Linked DNA regions of Homo sapiens: regions 1, 2, 4 and 5 are each linked to region 3. Evidence: promoter capture Hi-C in 16 types of primary human blood cells and fetal thymus (Javierre and others, 2016). All regions are on one chromosome and are shown on one strand. Each heading gives the region's core, a stretch centred on a gene start or on the middle of the fragment in contact. The rest is flanking DNA. Distances are from core to core; before and after follow the strand shown.

Region 1 (2,700 bases), core at 85-2,584, 560 kb before region 3:
CAGAGGCTAAGCATTGTTGGAACCAAGTCTATTCGTAGGAGACTCTCCAGAGAAGGCCCAGAGCAACCTGCTTGCTGCTGAGGTCCCCGGAGCCACTCTGAAGCCTGCCTCTCCACAATGATTTCTCAGTTTCTCCTTTCATTCCACACAAGTATACATCCAATAAATCTTCTTCCATTCCCTTCTGAAGCAACGAGTTGCAACCAATAGAACCCTAATACATGTAACAATGCTAGAGTTATTGGGAGAAATGGTTGAAACATTAATCAAATTCGTGTAATAGGTTTAGGGAGAAGAAGGTGCACATTTAGGAATATGTAGGTGCAGAAGAAAGAGTTTGGAGTGCCTTCCACATTTCTGGCTTCAGTGACTGGGTTGATGTTGCTACAGTCATACAGGTAGGGCATATGGGGAAAAAAAGGAGTGATCGGAGGGGAAGATACTGGACTCAAGGTGCCTAGAGGACATTCAAATGGAGATATACAGTTGGAAACTAGATATGTGCTTCTGGAATTCAAGAGCGTAGTCTAGGCTGGCAATACATATTTGGGAATTTTCAGCATTTAAATTGTCATTACCGCCATGGGGGTGAATGAGATTGCCCAGAGTATTAAGTTAAAAAAGAAGGATCCAATAATGAAATCCTATATTTAATACCGATGTATAAGAAGCAGGTAGAAGGAAAGAAATGCTGAAAGGAGGCTTAGAAGGAATGGCCAGGGAGGGAGAAGCAGAACCAGGAGAAGTGCCAAATGAAAGGAGAACGTGGAAAAGGATATGATGTCTAAATCAGTTCAGCATCATTACCAGTGTCCTCTTCATCTACAGCTGAGGCTGCAGTCACGCTATCAAACATACCTCCTGAGCCTGCTCCCAGACCCAGGGAATTTTTTTTTTTTTAAAGACAGAGTCTCACTCTGTCGCCCAGGCTGGAGTGCAGTGGTGCGATCTTAGCTCACTGCAGCCTTCGCCTCCTGGGTTCAAGCTATTCTTGTGCCTCAGCCTCCTAAGTAGCTGAGATTATAGGTGCCTGACACCACGCCCAGGCTAATTTTTGTATTTTTAGTAGAGATGAGGTTTCACCATCTCGAACCTGACCTGAGATCATCCTGACCTCGGGTGATCTCCCCTCCTTGGCTTCCCAAAGTATTGGGACTACAGGCGTGAGCCACTACGCCCTGCCCAAACCCAGGGAATTTCTTTAAGCTCCATCTTCTGCCTTTTGCTATGGCCCTAGATTCTCCTGCACTGCTTGGCTTTTTTGGATGGATGGCTTAGAGTAACAGCTGATGGCTGTTAAAATATTGTGAGTTCACCAACAATGAAAGAAATACAAATCGAAACAGCCTAAGATTGTTAAGATTCAGGCCAGGTGTGGTGGCTCACACATGTAATCCCAGCACTTTGGGAGGCCGAGGCAGGCAGATCACCTGAGACCAGGAGTTTGAGACCAACCTGGCCAACATGCTGAAACCTCATTTCTACTAAAAAATACAAAAATTAGCTGGATGTGGTTGTGCATGCCTGTAATTCCCAGCTACTGGGGAGGTTGAGGCAGGATAATCACTTGAACCCAGGAGGAAGTGGTTGCAGTGAGCCAAGATCGTGCCACTGCACTTGAGCCTGGGCAACAGAGTGAGATTCTGTCTCAAAATAAAAATAAAAAATAAGATTCTATCATGTACCTATACCTGATATGGTTTGGCTCAGTCACCACCCAAATCTCATCTTGAATTGTAATAATCCCCATGTGTCAAGGGCCGGGCCAGATGGAGATAACTGAATCATGGGGATGGTTTCCCCCATACTGTTCTCATGGGAGAGAGTAAGTTTCATGAGATCTGATGGTTTTATAAATGGGCGTTCCCCTACACAAACTCTCTTACCTGCTACCATGTAAGACATGACTTTGCTTCTCCTTTGCCTTCTGCCATGATTATGAGGCCTCCCCAGCCATGTGGAACTGTGAGTCAATTAAACCTCTTTTCTTTATAAATTATCCAGTCTCAAGTATGTCTTTATTAGCAGTGTGAGAACAGACTAATACAGTAACTATATCATTAATATACACAAATAAAGCAACAAAGCCTTATGTTGGCAGAGGCTGTGGAGAGGAAGGCAAGTGCAAACTTTGCTGATAGCATTTTAGGTACAGTCAACTCTTCTGCAGACTAACCAGGGAAGCAGTACATGAGCTGTATGTGCCCTTTGTTCCACTTTGGAACATACCTCAAGGACATAAGCTAAAGGAAAAATGTAGTAAGCAGTGAAGATTCTAGTACCACTATTTATAATGGCACAAAATGAAAACAATCCAAGTCCTGAGCTTTAAAGTAATTTTTAAATAATATCCAACTAACTGATTTGGAACGCTGTGTAACCATTAAAAATGATAACCAAGTGAACATGGAAACATATCTATGAAATAATGTTGAGTGAAAAAAGCAAAGCACACTAAGCGTCAGTGAGGGCATAGGAAAGTGGGAACCCTCAATATATTGTTGGTGGGAATATAAAATGGTACAGCCACTTTCGAAAACACAACCTGGAAGTTCCTCAAAAAGTTAAAAATAGAGTTATCGTTTGACAATGTCACTCCTAAGTATATGCCCAAGAGAAATGAAAACATATGTCCACACAAAAACTTGTACACAAATATTCATAACAGCACTACTCATAATAGTCAAAAGGTAGAAACAA
Region 2 (2,700 bases), core at 55-2,554, 580 kb before region 3:
TAATTTTTGTATTTTTAGTAGAGACAAGGTTTCACCATGTTGGCCAGGCTGGTCTCGAACTCCTGACCTTAAGTGATCCGCACTCCTCGGCCAACCAAAGTGCTGGGATTACATGCGTGAGCCACTGTGCCGGGCCAGAGTCAGTTTTAACGAGGGACTCATTCTAGGTGGACAGGAGAAGAGTGGCGTGGGAGTGTGGCATTGAGTGAGGTGTGAGTCCAGAAGGGGAAGCCTAAAGTGATCCTAGTTTAAGGTTTCAGGGTCATGAAAAAGAAAGAAGTGGATGTCAAAGACCACCTTGGCCTAGTCTACCTTCCTTTGACATAAGGTTGCCCCAGAGTTGGAACGGGATGACATTTGAGTAACCTTCTAATCAGGACTGTACCAGGTCAGCCCTGGACTAAAAGGAATGAGTCTAGGATGGAATCTAGTCAGACACTGTATCAGGTGCCCTTAGTGGGAAGTAAAAGAGACAGATGCAGACCAGGAGTTTAAAATCCAGTTAAGACTCATGAAACAACAAAGAAAACATTCACAGAACAACACAGCAATTAACTTACTAGTTACTATTTACTGAGTGCTTTCTACATGCCAGTGTTTGCATTAAGTGCTTTACAAACATGACTTAACTGAAAATGATTTCTATTGCCCTTGATGAAGAAATGTAGGCTTGGAGAGAATGAGTAACTTGTTCAAGGTTATACATCCAATAAGTGTTGAAAACCAGATGTGGCCTCAGGTTTGGCTGACTCCAGAACTTGCGCTTTTTGTGCACTACACTAGAGAGCCTCTATCATTGAGTCTCTGGTATGCAACCTCTGGTCCAAGTGATTACCTAAAATCATGTGGTAAATTTTACCATGTTCTCAAGGTTTAAAACCTTTCCACAGCTCTCCACTGCCTTACAGAATGTGTTAAACACTGGAGTATTTGACTGAACCAAGTAGAGGTAACTGAGTTGAATGAGGTCAATGTTGGTTTCCAAAAACAGTGAGTTTACTTGAAGTTTACTTGAAGGAAGTAAGGAATATGGAATATCGAGGAGAAAGAACAAAGCAAGGACTAAACCTAGACCTGGAATATTTCAGGGAAAAAACCCTAGACTTACTTCTACATCCACTAAAGCCAAACTTCTGCACCTACCAAACCAAACTTCTCATGAACACACACACACACACACACACACACACACACCCCACAGAACCTATGAGATTCTACTAATTTTTTTTTACCAGATAAATAGAATAGTAAAATTAGTAGGGTACATTTTACCAGAAGTAAGCTGTTTTTACTTACAGCACTTCTGACACCAACTTTTTGGGTTGTTTTCTCACACCAACCAATTCTCCATGTCTCTGGAAATTGACTGGGTGTCCAACAATCCAATTCAATTAGCACTAACTACTCAGAGTTGGCCTCTGACTCTTCAGGTTTAAGGGCTCAGAGCCACAGGCTGCCCTCATTTCAGATGCTACGTGCAATATCAGATCACCTGTACTTCTCCACCCTCCCCTAGCTTTATTAAGCTATAGTTGGCAAATAAAAATGATATATATTTACAGTGTACAATGTGAGGTTTTGATATATGTATATGTGGTGAAATAATTAAATCAAAGTAATTAACATATCCATCACTGCACATACAACTTTTTTGTAGTGAGAACATTTAAAATCTATTGTCTTAGCAATTTTCCAGAATACAATACAGTATTCTTAACTATCATCACTATGCTGTACAATAGATCTCCAGAATTTATTCATCCTAACAGTTAGAAACCCTCTACCCTTTGACAGTATCTCCCCATTCCTTTCTCCTTACCCCCAGGCCCTGTTAACCACCATTTTACTCTCTGCTTCTATGAGTTCCACATATAAGTGAGATCTGTAGTATCTGTAGTCTTTCAGTGCCTGGCTTATCTCACTTAGCATAATATCCTTTAGGTTTACCCAGATTGTCATAAATGACAGAACTTCCTTATTTTGAAAGGCTGAACAATATTACATTGTGTGTGTGTGTGTAAAACATTTTCTTTATCCATTCATCCATTGATGGACACTTAGATTGATTTTCTGTCTTGGCTGTTGTGAATAATGCTGCAATGATTGTGGGGATGCAGATATCTCTTCAATATATTGATTTCCTTTCTTTTGGATATATATCCAGAAGTGGGATTGCTGGGTCATAAGGTAGTCCTATTATTAATTTCTGAGGAACCTCTACGTGATTTTCCATAGTGGCTGTACCAATTTACATTCTGACCCACATTGTACAAGGGTTCCCCTTTGTCCACATCCTCACCAACATGTATTATCATTTGTCTTTTTGATAGCTATTCGAACATGTGTGAGGTGATATCTCATTGTGGTTTTAATTTAACTTACATTTTCCTGATAATTAGTGATGTTGACCATTTTTTCATATACCTGTTGGCCATTCATACGTCTTCTTTTGAGAAATGTCTATTCAGGTCTTTTGCCTTTCTTTTCTCTTTTTTTTTTTTTTTTTTTTTTTGAGACGGAGTTTCACTCTTGTTGCCCAGGCTGAGTACAATGGCACAATCTCAGCTCACCGCAACCTCTGCTTCCCGGGTTCAAGAGATTCTCCTGCCTCAGCTTCCTGAGTAGCTGGGATTACAGGCGTGCACCACCACACCCAGCTAATTTTGTATTTTTAGTAGAGACAGGGTTTCTCCATGTTGG
Region 3 (2,769 bases), core at 1-2,500:
TGACTTGCCGGTGGGCGGGGACCCAGAACGCCCTGGGCGGGAAGTGGTGCTGATTTACGGCTCAACGCCTCTCGATTGCAGCCCGGGCCCGCCCCCACTCAGTCAAAAGCCGCGCCCTCCATCCTGACTGTGATTGGGCGCGGCGTCTAGAAATTACGGCCACTTATTCGCTTAGAGGAGGTCCAGGCGCCTGTGGGCCTGCCCCCCTCGCCAGCCGAGTATTTCCTTCCCTGACTATTTATCAGCTTAGCTCCCTGATCTCTTCGCGTCCTGCGGGAAAGATGGGGCGGCCCGAATGTTGTAATGTTACTGCGCTCCTGCCTCTCCTCAGGGCAGCTGGGAACTAGCTGCCTGCCCCTTTCAGTCCTTGAGGGAACTCGCCCCTTTGCCCTGGCCTGTGTGGTGTTAAAGCTCTGTTTCTCGGGCACCTCCTCCTCCAAACCCCGGACCAGCCGCCCAGCGCCGTCAGAGCAGCCCCGACTAGCCTCCTCTCCTCTCAGCCGTCTGACTCCTCTCCCCAGTCTGTAGTCCCCTCAATTTGCATCCTTTAGCCCCGCTTGGAAAGAGACCGGAGAGAAATTTGCCCACTACCCCCGCGAGAAGACCCACTTGTCAGCCGTGTCTCGGGGTGGGGGGCACTGCAAGGCCTGGCGCTGTTTTGTGCACGTTAAATGCCCAGCAGTATCTCCCAGACCGGCAACCCCCGACCCTCCAGTCTCCATGTCTTACAGAAGCCAAATTCGAGAGTTATATAATTTCTAGTGCTGCTGTTGCTCCTGCCTGAGGAAACACTTCATCGCGTGGAGGGTGCAGGACATTTCAGTGCTCTTCCCTAAAAGAACGGGGCTTGGGCAGGGGTGGCCAGCGGTGGCAAAGAAATGTCTTGTCTTTTCTGCAAAAGGAAGGTGGGTAGTTTGAAGAGAGATTGAGAGAAAAGGTGGATGTGAAAGCCAAGCAGCTGCACTTTCTCATTTAGGAAATCGCGGACCGTTTACATAGCTTATGCTTACATGTCTAATACTACTACGGCGTCTCTGAAAACACCTTTGGGGGAAGGTTTGGCTTCTCTCGAAGTCTCAGTGTTTTTCCTCGCCGGATAGGGAGCTGCTTGAATGCGAAGAGATGGCATGATGTGAATGACTCCAGTGTGAAGAAATCTGCTTCGCCAACTCATCCTGCATCAAGTGCCCATTGAGTAGCACTGTCACTTTAATGTCTCCATGCCAAGGGATTGCTTTCCTTTTTTTTCAATCCTCTCGGTTAATACATGGGAGGATCAGAATCAGAGGGGCATTAAGGATCAAGCCTGGGGGCTTGGAGAGCACAGAAGAAAAAAATGAAAGGGACAGCAAGCTGGATTCTGAGTTACTGAGGGGGTGAGATCCGGAACTTCTGATCAGTAAATATAAGGGGGCCTTTCAATGTGTGTTCTGCCACAGAAAACTGTTCAAACTCACCTATCTTTTTAGAGACTGGAGTCAAAGAGATTTTTAAAAGTATTTTTGGGGAGGTGGGGTTACATTTTTCTCTACAGATTTGAGTATCTTTATCATCATCTTTGAATTTGACCATGTATAAAGTAATGAGACCTGTCTAAATTTGGTTTGTGCCTTAATTGAGTTAGTCATTGAACTTCCAAAAATGTTGCTGCCTGAAGAGGAATTTCAGTAACGTTCTTCATGTTTACAATAATTTTCCCAGTTTGTAAAAACAGTCTAAATATTTTCTGAAAATTGAAAAACTTGAAAAACTAAAAAATTACGTTGCTGTAAACTCTGTGGGCGGTGTAAAAAGTTTAGTTGTGGAAAAAATACATCATTATTTTCTTTGTCTGACATAGAAGACTCAGCCTGGATTTCAAAACTGAACACTGAAGTGGTTTGCAACAGTTACCTGGCTCTTGGCCTCAATCCAGCTGGATCAAACTGAGACCTGAAAAGAGATATTGACTCCTGTGGCAGTGGAAAGACCCAAGAATGCCAGTCAAGAAGACAGGTGGGCCATAAGGTTGCTATATAATATTTCTCCCTTTTGTTGGTTCTGGTACTTGTAATTTAAATTATATTCCATTTGAGAGTAAAGTTTTGCTTCAGTTTGGGGGAAATATTTATTGTAATATAGTTTCAGTGGTACATAATTCAGTAATATTATTTTACTAAAGTAAAAGGAAGCAAGACTATAGTATTTATTGATAGATATTTATGATTTCATAAATCAGGTTGTTTATATCACCGTTGGTAATAAGAATAGATTCAGTACCGCAGATTTGGAGTCTCCTTTAGCTTGTTTTCTTAGCTTGTTGAAGGTTACTTTTAAGCAGTCTTTAAAAAAGAAACTTGTGCAGTGGAGCTCTTCCTCATGGGTTTAATATTTATCAAACTAATTACAGAATTGTGAAAGGTAGCAAAGTAATTTCATTTGCACTGAACAAAATTACAGCTTTATAATTTATCTTTTGGTTAAAAAATAGACTTATTATTTGGATTTATTCTAGTGTAAATCTTCACTTTTGTGATAAAGCACAACTTTCGTGACTATTGTGCTTTTCCAGATATATGCATTATCCAATAACATGATTGTCAAGTTCCCCAAATGGGGCAAACACCTGTTTTTTTCCTCCCTCCTCAACAACTTTTATTATTGGAATTGATCAAGATCTAGTGAATTCCTGAAGCATAGTTGATTATATTCTGAACTTGGGGATTCAGTTTAGCTTAGATGCACCCCAGGTTAACTTTGTTCCAAAGGATCCTAGTTTGGGACTGTTTT
Region 4 (2,810 bases), core at 113-2,612, 600 kb before region 3:
TTTATACTTGATCTTAGTCAAAAGGCTGAGAAGCAATCCTGACCTAATTTTCTATTTAGTTTTTCTGCTGGGCATTCTGCCACATTTGCCCTCTCTCCACACAGTTCTTCTCTAGTAACAAACAAGTTCATTTCCAAATGGCTCTTTCTAAGTTTATTTGTTCGCAAGACCAAAAGAACTAAGAGATGTTTATGTTTGCAAGCCCTGGATGGAATTCCACCAGATAAGTTCTCTGAAGAGAACCAGCACACTTACTGTTTGTAATAGCAAAAGACTACAATATAGATCCATCAATGGGGTATTGATTATATAAGTTATAGTATATCTATAATGTAGTCTTTAAAATAAATAAGGTATATCTATATGAATTGATATAGAACAATCTCCAAAATATATTACATGGGAAAAAAGTTACAGAACAGTGTGTATAATGTGCCCTTATGTGTATGAAAGGAAATATTTAAATTCCTAATAAAGGTCACCTTTAGGCAGGGAACTGGGGGTATAGGAAAGAAGGAAAAGTTGGTTTTTACTGTGTGTCTTTTTTATACTATTTGAATTATAAACATTTATAATTATTGCTTTAAAAAATTAGTTTGCCTTCAACATCACAGACTAGACATGCTCTATTCTACTTCCTGTACAATCTCTCAGCTATCTTTTCTCATATACTAGTTTCCACCACGTTGAACATATGTTTAGGAAGGAAATCTCCCTCTTTGGTGATGGCTGCAAGTGTAGAAATCTCCTTGGCAGCTATGATGTCCTTAAACTACAGAACTTAAGTGTGGCTATGTAAAAAGTTCCATCAGGTGCATTTTTATCATGTTCAGTCCTCAAGTTCCTAAACAAATGATGTTTTTATCCAGAATTAACTTGATTCTGGCATCTGACATTAATATTCCTTCTCTAGCTGTACACCCATAAAGCCTTTCCTTCTGACAATTTTTTTATTCTTCTTGCTTATTATTGTTGATAGCATAGATATATGAGTGATTGCATGATCAGACATTTGTTCCTCAGAATTGTCATTATTCCTGAACAATTTATCCCATCACTACATACATTTATCATCTTCAATTTTTACATCTATTTTTGTTTTTAAACTAATTGCCTGTCTCTCCCTACTAACATTGTTAATACTCCAGATGCATTTGATCTTACTGAACATGAAAGATCAATGATAACATTTGTAATTTTTGTAAAACATTGAAAATTAAGAGCAAATCCATCAATTATACAAAGATCAAAGGCCATAAAGTTGTGTTCTCCAGGCTTCAGCCTGCATAGTTTTTTTTTGTTTGGCCCACATAACATTTTTTGTTTTATTTATCTATGTATTTAGGTTATTTTGTTTTTAAAATGTAACTTTTAAGTTCAGGAGTAAATGTGCAGGTTTGTTATACAAGTAAACTTCTTTCACGGGAGTTCGTTGTACAGATTATTTCATCAGCCAGGTATTAGGCCTAGTACCCATTAGTTATTTTTCCTGATCCTCTCCCTCCTCCTAACCTCCACCCTCCAATAGGCCCCAGTGTGTATTTTTTCCCTCTATGTAACCATTTATTCTCATCACTTAGCTCCCACTTGTAAGTGAGCGCACGTGGTATTTAGTTTTCTGTTCCTACATTAGTTTGCTAAGGATAATGGCCTCCAGCTCCATCCATGTTTCCTCAAAGGACATGATCTTGTTCTTTTTTATGGCTGCATAGTATTCCATTGTGTATATGTACCACATTTTCTTTATTCGGTCTACCAGTGATGGGCATTTAGGTTGATTCCATGCCTTTGCTATTGTCAATAGTGCTGCAATGAACATACATGTGCATGTGTCTTTATGACAGAATGATGTATATTTCTTTGGGTATATACCCAGTGATGGGATTGCTCTGTTGAATGGTATTTCTGTTTTTAGGTCTTTGAGGAATCACCACACTGTCTTCCACAATGGCTGAACTAATTTATCCTCCCATCAACAGTGTATAAGCATTCCTTTTCCTCCACAACCTCATTAGCATCTGTTATTTTTTGACTTTTTAATAATAGCTATTCTGGGTCAGGTGTGGTGGCTCATGCATGTAATCCCAGCACTTTGGGAGGCTAAGGCGAGTGGATCCCTTTAAGTCAGGAGTTCAAGATTAGCCTGCCAACATGGTGAAACCCCGTTTCTACTAAAAATACAAAAATTAGCTGGGCACAGTGGCATGCACCTGTAATCCCAGCTACTAGGGAAGCTGAAGCAGGAGAGTCACTTGAACCTGGGAGGCAGAGGTTGCAGTGAGCTGAGATCGCACCACTGCACTCTAGCCTGGGTGACAGAGTGAGACTCTGTCTTAAAAAAAAATAGAACCGTTCTGACTGGTGTGAGATGGTATCTCATTGTGGTTTTTATTTGCATTTCTCTAATGATCAGTGACGTTGAGTTTTTTAATGATTGTTGGCCACATATATGCCTTCTTTTGAAAAGTGCCTGTTCACGTTTTTTGCCCACTTTTTAATGGGCTGTTTGTTTTTTTCTTGTAAATTTAAGTTCCTTGTAGATGCTGGATATTATTAGACCTTTGTCAGGTGTATAGTTTGCAAAAATTTTCTTACATTCTGTAGGTTGTCTGTTTACTCTATTGATAGTTTCCTTTCCTGTGCAGAAGCTCTTTAATTAGATCCCTTTTGTCAATTTTTGCTTCTGTTGCAATTGCTTTTGGTGTCTTTATCATGAAACCTAAGTCTTTAATCCATCTTCAGTTGATTTTTCTACATGGTTTAAGGAAGGAGATCCAATTTCAGTCTTCTGTATATGGCTAGCCAGTTAT
Region 5 (2,700 bases), core at 165-2,664, 640 kb before region 3:
TTTAATACAAATCCAGTTAAAAACTCCTTCTCCTCAAAACAACTCCCAGCAAGATTTTTAGAAATGTAGAAAAGATTATTCTAAAATTTACACACAGAAAGACAAAGGAATTAGAATAGCTCAAAACAATTATGAAAAAAATAAAAGCGGGAAAAATCTATCAGATTCCAAGAATAATTATAGAGCTACAATAATGAGGACTGTGTATGTAGTACTGGTGGAGGGACAGATATACAGATGAAACAGAACAGGAAAATCAAAAACAGCCCCACGTAAGTACAGCCAAACAATTTCTGAGAGAGGTGCAAAAGCAATTCAATGGCGGAAGAATAGTCTTCCAACAAATGCTGATGGAACAACTGAGTATCTATAAGAGAAAAATGAACTTCCACCTAAACCTCGCACCTTCATAAGGAAATCAACTCAAAATGGATTACACATTTAATGTAAAACATAGCAGTATAAAACTTTTACAAGAGAACACAGGAGAAAATCTTTAAGGTCTATAGCTTGGTAAGGAGTTCTCAGGCAAAACATCAAAAGCATAATCCATAAAATAATTTTAAAAAATCAATATACTGGATTTAATAAAAACTACAAACATTTGCTCTGTGAAAGACCCTATTAAAGAGGATGAAATGACAAGCTACAGACTGAAAGAAAATATTTGCAAACTATGTATCTGATACAGGATTCATATTTAGAATATATTCAAACTCTCAAAACTCAACAGTTAAAAAAAAAAAAAAAACACAACAAAAAACCAATCCAATTAGAAAATGAGCAAAAGATATGAAAAGACATCACCAAAAAGGATATACGAATGGTAAATAAGCACATGAAAAAGATGTTCAACATCACTAGCCATCAGGGAAATGCAAATTAAGACCACGATGAGATATCACTACACACCTATCAGAACAGCTAAAATAAAAAATAATGACAATACCAAATGCTGGCGAAGATTCGGAGACACTGGATCTCTCATACATTGCTGGTGGGAATGTAAAATGGCACGGCCACTCTGGAAAATAGTTTGGCAGTTTCTTAAAAAACTAAACAAACTTAACCACAACCCAGCAATTGCCCTCCTAGGCATTTACCCAGAGAAATGAAAACTTAAGTCCACACAAAAACCTGGACACAACTGCTGATTAGCAGCTTTATTTGCAATAGCCCAGAACTGGAAATGACCAAAACCTCCTACCATAGATAGTTACATAAACTATGGTAATCCATACCATGGAATACTACTCAGCAATAAAAAAGGAGAACTACTGATACAGGCAACAACCTGGATGGATCTCAAGGGTTTGAGTGGAAAAAAACAATCTTAAAAGGTCCCAAACTGTACCATTCTTGAAATGACAAAATTCACGTGATAAAATGACATAAAACTAAACACACACATTGTACCAGTGTCAATTTTCTGGATTTGATATTGTATTACAGTTATATAATATATAAACTTTGGATTCTGGATAAAGATCATATGGGACCTCTCTGCACAATCTTTGAAACATCCTATGAATCAAGTTATTTGAAGGTCAAAAGTTTAAAGAAAAAAGAAAAAAACAGTTTACACATAAAGCCAAGAAAAAAGTAAATCAGGCTCTGCCCAAGAAAATGTGAAGTGGCCTGAAATTCACATCAAGAAAAGAAACCGGACAGCAATTTCACCAAATTTGATAATCCTAAATGCTCATGTAACATCACCAATAGCTTCTCTAAATTATCAGCTACAAAAAAATACACAGACACACAAACACACACACACACACACCCAGATGGCCTTGACTTACAATGGTCTGATTTACAATTTTTCAACTTTACCAAAATGGTACAAAACAGCTGCAATTTTGAAGTACTTGGAATTTTGAATTTTGATCTTTTCCTGGGCTAGCAGTATGCAGTATGTGAGATATTCAATGCTTTATTATAAAACAGGCTTTGTGTTAGATAATTTTGCCCAACTGTAGGCTAATTCTGAGCACATTTAAGATAGGCTGGGCTAAGCTGATATTCAGTAGGTTATGTGTATTAAATGCGTTTTCAATTTATGATGGGTTTATCACGATGTAATCCCATCATAAGTTGAGGAGCATCTGTATAAATCCATCAACAGGGGCAGGGGTTGGCAAACTACAGCCCATAAGCCAACTCCAGCCACCTGTTTTTATAAATAAAATTTTACTAAAATAGTCACAGAGATACAAAAAAACAAAAGCCAATTCTGTTGGCTTTAGTTACTGGTTATCTTGTAACAATACTGACTATCAGAGAATACTATCACCTTATAAAACTATACTCATCTTACTGGAGCACAAAGAATTATAATTCAATGGCATGTTTTATTCTTAAAACAAGTTTCTAAATATATCAAAATATGAGACTTTAAAAAAGGCAACTTCCCAGCTGCCATTCAATTTAATAAACTACATAAAGTGCTCCCTGCCAAGTTCCAACATGCGCACACACATACACACACACACACACACACACACACACACACGATGGAAGTACAGCTTAACTGCAGTTACCATACCTTAGAAAGTATCAAATCGCCTAACCATCGCACACAATCAACATAATTCCTATGTATGTCTCTGGTAGAAAAATCAGGAAAATGGATTTTCTGAGAAATAAATGGCCTGAAGGAAGAATGGAAATGTAAAAAGTTAAAAGAAAAAATTATAGTAG

The links. Contacts are between HindIII fragments. The CHiCAGO score rates a contact against its expected background, and 5 or more counts as called.
Region 1: a fragment that was not itself captured here is called in contact with the fragment with the promoter of DLG2 in region 3 in 7 of 17 cell types (non-activated CD4 T cells, naive CD4 T cells, activated CD4 T cells and 4 more); the score reaches 10.5 in non-activated CD4 T cells.
Region 2: a contact is called between a fragment that was not itself captured here and the fragment with the promoter of DLG2 in region 3, in 7 of 17 cell types (activated CD4 T cells, total CD4 T cells, naive CD8 T cells and 4 more). The highest score is 11.4, in activated CD4 T cells.
Region 4: a fragment that was not itself captured here is called in contact with the fragment with the promoter of DLG2 in region 3 in 2 of 17 cell types (naive CD4 T cells and naive CD8 T cells); the score reaches 5.6 in naive CD4 T cells.
Region 5: a fragment that was not itself captured here is called in contact with the fragment with the promoter of DLG2 in region 3 in 10 of 17 cell types (naive CD8 T cells, non-activated CD4 T cells, naive CD4 T cells and 7 more); the score reaches 13.0 in naive CD8 T cells.

What each region holds. Positions count from the first base shown.
Region 1 is chr11:86,188,957-86,191,656 of GRCh38, reverse strand. It overlaps LINC02695 (long intergenic non-protein coding RNA 2695), which reads left to right. Exons shown (of 2, transcript XR_001748524.2): 2 at 1-189. Among named protein-coding and RNA genes, the nearest start is that of LINC02695, 3.2 kb to the left of the region's middle. The HindIII fragment of the contact is 3,645 bases long and covers 1-2,700 here.
Region 2 is chr11:86,207,997-86,210,696 of GRCh38, reverse strand. No RefSeq gene overlaps it. Among named protein-coding and RNA genes, the nearest start is that of LINC02695, 16 kb to the right of the region's middle. The HindIII fragment of the contact is 3,371 bases long and covers 1-2,700 here.
Region 3 is chr11:85,625,825-85,628,593 of GRCh38, reverse strand. DLG2 (discs large MAGUK scaffold protein 2) reads left to right here and starts at 1,250. Exons shown (of 28, transcript NM_001142699.3): 1 at 1,250-1,376; 2 at 1,841-2,007. It overlaps TMEM126B (transmembrane protein 126B), which reads right to left and starts at 1. Exons shown (of 5, transcript NM_018480.7): 1 at 1. RefSeq lists enhancers at 204-393, 534-583, 664-823, 696-1,204. The HindIII fragment of the contact is 9,013 bases long and covers 1-2,769 here.
Region 4 is chr11:86,224,445-86,227,254 of GRCh38, reverse strand. No RefSeq gene overlaps it. Among named protein-coding and RNA genes, the nearest start is that of EED, 19 kb to the left of the region's middle. The HindIII fragment of the contact is 7,356 bases long and covers 1-2,810 here.
Region 5 is chr11:86,268,407-86,271,106 of GRCh38, reverse strand. EED (embryonic ectoderm development) reads right to left here. Exons shown (of 12, transcript NM_003797.5): 9 at 2,546-2,651. Among named protein-coding and RNA genes, the nearest start is that of MIR6755, 8.6 kb to the left of the region's middle. The HindIII fragment of the contact is 6,326 bases long and covers 1-2,700 here.